Regions from separate parts of the Homo sapiens genome. Here region 2 is linked to region 1. Evidence: promoter capture Hi-C in human tissues and cell types (Jung and others, 2019). All regions are on one chromosome and are shown on one strand. Each heading gives the region's core, a stretch centred on a gene start or on the middle of the fragment in contact. The rest is flanking DNA. Distances are from core to core; before and after follow the strand shown.

Region 1 (3,671 bases), core at 1,061-3,560:
AAACAGACACCTATTCATTACTGTGGAGATGCCCACCCCCCCACCCCCACCCACCTTTTGCGAGAGTAATTGTTGAGGACAAAGCTCCGGGAGAGAAGAGCCAGGGGAGGAGGGGACCGGCCCGGGAGGGACAGACGGAGGGAGGGAGCACCAGCGGCTAAGCGCGGGGATGCGGGTACGCGCTCATCACAGGACAGCGCGCGTGCACACACACACACACACACACGCACACACACACACCCCTCCTGCCTGCTCTCTCTGTCTCTGGCCAAAGGAAGATGAGGAGCTGAGCCCGAGTGCAAGCGCAGATTCCTGCCCGCGTGCGGCCGAGCGAGGCTTTGGGGAGCCTCGGGCTGCCTTGGCGCTTGACTGTCTGAATCCCTCGCGACAGTGAGAGGCGCATTTTCTGCTCGCGTTCGCAACCCTTGGCCATGCAGCACTTAGCAGAGAAGAGAAAGCCGGAGCTGCGGACTCCGGGGAGGCTGGGGGCTTGGCCGCGATTGATGTGCCATTCCCTGTTAATTTCCCAGGCACGAACTGGGGAGCTCCTACTCAACGCCCGGTCTCTGCCTGAGCCTGTTTTTCCTTTGGATTTGGAAAAAGGTCGTTTCCGAAGGGCTCTCTGAATGCTCATCCAGCCGCTCTCCTCTCCTTCTTTGCCAGGACCGCTCACTGTACCCCAGTGCCCATCTACACTTGCGGTGAGGTCCCGCAAAACAAGTGGACCTTATCATGAGTCATTTTGCTCTTTTCTATTCTTTTGGCCGTCGAAGCCGCCAGCTCCGTATTCGGAGATTACAGCAGTCCTGATCAGCCAGCCTCCAGGTCCCTCTTTCTCCTGCACTAGCCAGATCCAATCCCCAAACAGTTTTGCCATTTTTAATTAGAAACTGAGCTAGGCAAGTGCCAGGGTCAGGGCGCCGGTTCTCTGGAATATCAATCACTTGGAGTTTGGAGGTGTCCTGGAGCTATATGGAGACTCAGCTTGCGAACTACATTCACCGTTAAAAAATAAAACAATATTAAACACACCTCCCCTCCTCCTTGGCAACTCTGTGCCTCCTTCAGTACCAGGATCCCCTCCTTGGAAGTACCAAAACATATTAGCTGTCCCTTTCCCTATTCTCAATCACCAAGTCCAAAAATCCAAACCAAAAGGAGATGTATTCACACACCAACGACTCAGCCCCACCATCTACATTCTGCGCAGACTTCCTCAAAGCCCCTGGATGTCCTCCTCGCCTGCTCCTGTTGCCCCAATCCTCCCCACTTGGTAGGTTTCTGGGGCTTTAAGGACCCAGCCCAGTTCCTTTCAACGATATCCCCAGCACCTGCCCCAGCCCGCCGGCTCTCCAAACCAACCCAAGTATTTGCAGAAGCAAAAATGCGTGAAGCATCAGATTTTAAAACAGCGAAGGGGCGCCCCTTGTACCACCCCCCCACCATCATCCGCCCCCAGGGAAGAAAAAAACTCTTCTATCTTTTATCATCGGTGCGCAAATGGGGGCAGCGCAAGCGCCAAATCTCTTGCTATCCCCCACCCCAATTCTACTACTCGCCAAATGAAATGAGAAGGGAAGTGGGGTACGGAAGGGGGTGCGACGAGAAGAAAGGAAAGAGCCACTTACCGGTTACTTGAAGATGCGCGCTGAACAAGGAAGCTCCGAAGAGTACAAAAGCCAGCTTGGGTACCCAAACACATCTAAGACTATTCTCCATATTTCAGCCAACACCTTCGGGGCCAGGGGTCGCGGGCAGCGGCAGCACTCACACACATGCACTCACACACGCATGCACACATGCACACACACGCGCCGAGCCCCTTCGGCTTCCTCCTCCTCCTCGTCCTCTTCCTCCACCTCTTTCTCCACCTCCCCTGCGCCTCTGCTGCCTTCGAAGCCTTTTTCCTTGTCCACTGACAGAATCAGCAGCAAAAGCAGGCAGCAAAAAGTTCCATTCGGTCCAAGAGATCCCGAGCCCCGGTAAAACCTTAGAAAACTAACTCAAGGAAACGGAGGGAGCCAGAGGAGGGAAGACAGCTCTCTGAGGGGCTCGCAAGTCATCAATAAACCACATCCAGGAGGGACCAAGAGGAGATGGAAGGCAATCCTGTGGCCGGGCTGTGCATTAAAAGGTTGAGGCTGGTTCCTTGTCGTCGGTTGGGTAAAGTTGAAGAGACAATTCCGCGCGAGAGCTGGAGATGCTGTTGGTTTTTCTTCCGAGAGCCGAGGGGACCCAGGGAGGAGAGGCGGGGGGGACTGCGGGGTGGAGCGCTCTCACTTGTTACTGGGGTGTCCGCCAGCGGTGTGCGAGCTGGGAGTTGGAACCGTACTACACATTGATCCGGAGAAGTGGAGGGCTGGAAGGGAAAATGTGGAGACCGGAGGGAAACGAACTGGATCAGGCAAAGATTCCACGGGAAGGGGGTGGGGGCAGACAGACTATGGCTTAGGGAAAAAAGAGCGGACCGAGGAGGCTTCCAGGAGCTGCATTTGCCTGGTCTGCGTATCAATGCGCAGGGATGCCCTCTGTGGGCAAAGCGTGGGAAGTCACTTTTGTCAATGGAGCCTGCGAACATCCTGAGCGTCTGGAGGTTTTGCAGCGACCGTGTTTGACACTCAGCCTTCAGGAAATTATTGGTATTTGACTGTAAAACCTAGGCGGGCGTTTAAGGCGGAGGAGGTGGCCAGGATGTTTACTTCCTTCTCTGCCCTTGGCATTATTTAAAATACAATTTTTCATTTGGAAAGAATCACCTGATCCAACTCCCTTCTAGGACGGGAGGGAAATCGAGATCCTGAAACACACAGCGGACAGGACAAAGGCCAGAGTTATTTCCTGACATAATAGCTAAGGGGCCTCCTTTTGTAGGACGTCTCATGTCGTCTGTGTTCTCTCTTCTCTCGCAATTGTTTTCTTTAACATATTTAAAAGCACTTATCATGTTCCAGGTGTTCTGTTGGCTCCCAGGAAATAGTTGGGACATCCAGTGAGACTCAGTCTCTATCCTCAAGGGGTTTGTGATCCGTCAGGAGAGAAGCTAAATGGATAATTATAAAGTATCGTGATAAATATGATGGTTCACGTAATGGAGGGGGTGCTCTGGGAAAACAAGAGAGACATTTCTCCAGTCCCTGGCAGATAAAGTGAAGCAACCATACACACGCGTGTGTGTGCACACACACACAAGCACACACACAGCAGGAAACTTAGGAAGGGTGAACAGTAAAGCCCTTTCAGGAAACTGTTTTAAGCTGAGTTCCTTTGCATAACTTGTCTCTGCTGCGGGAACTCAAGCTCCTTTGAGAAGAGAGAGGTTGTATGCCATCCATTTTTGCACTCCTCACAGATGCTAGCATAGAACTTGGAATTCTGCACATGCCAATACGTTTCTGCAGAATAAGTGAACTTACAAACCAATTAATTTGGCCGGGAAGGATAATGAATAGAAATGTCATTCTGGTAAAATTCTGTCGTTTAAGGAGATGTTCAGCTGTGGATTCAGACCATTCCTTACTAGATTCTTCCCCACCTGTTCTTGTCACCCTCCCATGCTCACCAGGCTGTGAGCAGAGAGAATGTGAACATCTATTTAAGAAGAAAGGCGTGAGGGAAAGCATGAAAAATCCAGGATAAAATCATCATCAGGGAAACTCCTATGATGCTGGAAC
Region 2 (4,058 bases), core at 117-2,616, 200 kb before region 1:
TGTTGTTGTTTATTTTTAATTGACAAATAAAATTTATACATATTTATCATGTATAACATGTTTTGTGGAATGGCTAAATTGAGCTAACTAATACATGTATTATCTTGCATAGTTATCCTGTTTTTGTGGTGAGAATACTCAAAGTCTACTCTCTAAGCAATTTTCCAGAATACATTGTTATTAACTACATCATTATGTTGTATAATACAGCAGTTCCAAATATAATTGGTACCAGAGACTGGCTTCATGGAAGACAATTTTTTCCATGGGATGGGCCGGGGGCATGGATTCAGGATGAAACCGTTCCACTTCAGCTCATCAGGCATTAGATTCTCATAAGATGCACTCAACCTGGATCCCTTGCATGTGCAGTTCACAATAGGGGTTGTACTCCTATGAGAATCTAATGCTGCCACTGATCTGAGAGGAGGCGGAGCTCAGGTGGTAATGCTCACTGGCCTGCACTCACCTCCTGCTGTGTGGCTCAGTTCTTAACATGCCATGGACCAATACTAGTCCACGGCCTGGGGGTTTGGGGACTCCTGGAACAATAGATCTCCTGTAAATCTTGAATCAAGCTTATTTTTTTTTTCATGGATTTACCTTGAACTCCCTCTTAGATCTTGGTAGAGGATATTTCATTCAGTAACTCTGAGAACTTTACCTAGAAATTCATTAAATCTTAAAATATCTCTCTATGGTTCCAAGTTAACTACAGTTTAAATTAAGCCCCACAAAATCTTGAATTGAAGAAGAAACTCAAAATGTACATTGACTCAGAGACAATGAAATCCCAATGCCAGTTCATGTTCTAACAAACATCCAAACCCAAATTGCTGATTAACATGTAATCACTGCAACCAGACTCCTTTCCATCTGGAAAGAACAAGAGGCTAATTTTATTATTTTTACTCACATGTCTATCAGCCTCAGACCAGCTAACCAACCTCAGTACCGAGGCCATGTCATCCACCACACATTATTCACTCATTCATTTATTTATTCATTTCATACACTGTATTCAAATTCTACTTTGTGGCTGATATTTTGTACAGCTCTGTGGGAAAGTACAAAAGGAGAACAGATAACTTCTGCTGCAGAAGAATTTGCAATCAAGGTTAAAAGAAAAAAAAACATGTTTGTAAGAAAACACTAGAGAGAAAATTATATTAAGAAAAGCAGGACACTGTAGTAGGGACACAGCTCTCTGAAGAGGTGTTAGGATAGCAAGGCTGGCCCTGTGAAAGGGCTACTGGAGATAGGAAGATAAGGAAGATTCACATGGTATCCTGAACTGTATCCAGTCTGGAGCAAGGAGGAATGGAAGGAGATAGACAAAACCTACCAAATAATAAGGCAGGATTTATTATGTACTAAATAATAGAGACAAAATGTGGCCAGACTAGAAAAGAAAGAAATAAAGTTTGAACAGGGTACATCAGGAAAGAGTTTATAGATATTAGTGAAAGCGTTTGTGTGGTTATGTGTGTGTATTGTCTTACTGTAACAGTAATATATTATGATGTTCAGAGAAGTAAAAATAAATTGCAGTGGGTTGGAGGAGAGAAGAGAATGTTACAATAGGTAGGATTTTAAAAGGATAGAAATAATTTTTTGGAAAGTTGAGGTTGACTTAGTACTGTGAAGAAGGCAGAAAGGCAGCAGAAAGCTATTAAATTTCAGAGCCCCAAGTTGTGTGATGGTAGTTGGAGGTAAGCAGGCAAGACTACTGGGAGACTTCGGAGGAAGATTGGGATACAGGTGTAGAGGTCTGATGCCAAGCTGAGGATGGATGAGGTGCCAAATCCAACAGTTGTTTACATGCTGGAATGGAATGTTTTAGAAAGATCCTCTTTGTGATGGTTCATGCACAGGTGGAATCCAGGGTAGGAAGTTCTGTTAGGTAGCCACAGCTAGAGCCTAAACAAAAAGTGTAACATTTGAATTATAGGCAAGAAAAATTAATCCTGCAGGGAAGGGCAGAAGACAGAAAATTCTAGTAATCATGGAAAAGAGCTGTACTTGATCAGAGAGGCAAAATAGGACTTTAAGGTATGGGGGGAGATATAAAACATGGGGACATCATTGGCTGGCTTTAGACAAGTGGCATGAGGCATAATTACAATCTCTCAATGGTCGTTAAATACTCTGCATTGACAGACAGTGAAGAGCCATATGCCATTTTCTCTTGGAATCTGCATCTTTGTTCTCTTTGTGTTATTTCCTTTCATTCGTCGTCATTGTTTTCTTTTTTTTCTGCTTGTAATAGTTGGTGAGACAAGCTGGCTATAGGAGGTCCAAAAATGTGTACATGCTGTGGACTGTAGCTGCCTCCCCTAGACTGTAATTTTAAGCCTCCAAGTTAGAAATCCCAGGAGATATTTATATCCAGGAGGATTTCAGCTAACTATGTGTTTGCCTCCAGGCAGCAGCCTCAACAGGCGCTGTGTTTACTTTCCAACATTGAATGGAAAACATCATTTTGAAAAAGCTTAATTTCCAAAAACCCATCCCACAACAGCCTAATTTTAGAACCTATGAAAGCTAATAATTTCAAAATTCTTCCCAACAGTTTCTTGTTTATGTTTTGCAGCCCAAGTCTAAATATATCATAAAGGAGATTTTAAATATTACTTTATCCATTTGTTAACTTATTACTGCATTTATTTATTTATTTCCTGAAGCAAAAGCACAGCAACTTATTGTTTTCAGTTTCTGTTTGTCCTCTAGATGTGAGATGTTTTACTCATGATAAGATAAGGACCTAGAGAGAACTTTCATCATCAAACAGATGAAGAAAAATCAGAGTTCACAATTAAACTCTCTGGTACAAAAATAATCAAATCCAATAGCCTGCCACTTTAACAGCACTAGCTCCCTGCACTCTCTTATTAACATTTTCTATTTCTTTAAGGATGATTAAAATAAAAAAGGCACTGCACTGAGTCTAAACCTTCCATGAAGAAAATAATAACTAAACTGGTTCTCAGAAAGAATATAATTGGCCACAATACAGAACTTTAAAGAGATCATTTTAAAAGATCCAAACTTCTCTGCAAAAATTTATCAGAGTCTTCTTAGGAATTAAGCTTCTTGCATAAAAATATTGAAAGGATCCTTCAAATAAGAGCAATTTCAATATTAAAATTTAAGGAAAAGTCACGCTAGCTTGAAGAAAAGGGCGACATGTCCTAGGGGATAGATGGAATTTGGGGTTTTGCCAAACTCATTTTGGAAGGTTTAGGTATGTGATTAAATCAAACATAGCAACTTTTGCCTTGCCTTTCTTGAAGATTGAGAGCCCTGTTTAGAGATCTAGGATGGAGGCCACCTCTTCCTGAGAAACACTGATGTTTTCATATGATTGATACCTTGAGATTTACTGAGAATTTTTATGCTGATAAAACTGTGTCTTGCTCCCAGTTTGGTAATTTTTCTTTGGATCTGTGAGGAAAGACATGTCTGGTGAAGCCTATATCTCTAAAAGTCCTTTTTTGGAAGAAATTAGAAAGTTGCACCGAGCAAAATGCCTAACTTAGGAGCAGCAGCCTACTTAGTCCATCTGTCCGCAGCTTCCCATTTTTGTCTTTTCTCCATGTCTGTGGTCAGGACCAAGTGGTTCTTGAAGTGCCAAGTTGGTCTATTCACTTCCCCTCTAGGAAAGCCTGGTATATGAGACCTTTTACAATCTGGCTCCGACATATACCCACATGGTTCCATTTCCTCCTTCCCCCCACATATCACTGTTCCTCCCGCAAGTAGCCCCGTTCCCTTCCTCTACTTTCTAGCCACACACTTTGTTGCTTGAAAATGCCATGCTTTTTTGTTCTCCTACCCCATCTCAGCGTCTGTCTGATCTTGTGTTTGAAATGACCTTTCACCACTTTTCTTCCATTCTCAGTGTAAAAGCTACCTTCTCATGGAAGATTCCAGACTCCCTCAGGTTGTTGTATTTCCTCCTCTGTGCTCCCAAAGCATTTTGAACAAACTCTCTTACAGCCTTGAGCACTCTGCACTGTGTAATCAGGCTTTGGCTCTTTTCTTATAACAGATATTTT

What was found. Contacts are between HindIII fragments. The study calls those that stand out against the background at their distance.
Region 2: a fragment that was not itself captured here is called in contact with the fragment with the promoter of DCC in region 1 in 1 of the 25 tissues and cell types used here (stomach).

The regions. Positions count from the first base shown.
Region 1 is chr18:52,338,836-52,342,506 of GRCh38, reverse strand. DCC (DCC netrin 1 receptor) reads right to left here and starts at 2,310. Exons shown (of 29, transcript NM_005215.4): 1 at 1,629-2,310. The coding sequence starts at 1,719. The HindIII fragment of the contact is 11,241 bases long and covers 1-3,671 here.
Region 2 is chr18:52,535,844-52,539,901 of GRCh38, reverse strand. All of the region lies in intron 1 of DCC (DCC netrin 1 receptor), which reads right to left. Among named protein-coding and RNA genes, the nearest start is that of DCC, 200 kb to the right of the region's middle. The HindIII fragment of the contact is 6,333 bases long and covers 1-4,058 here.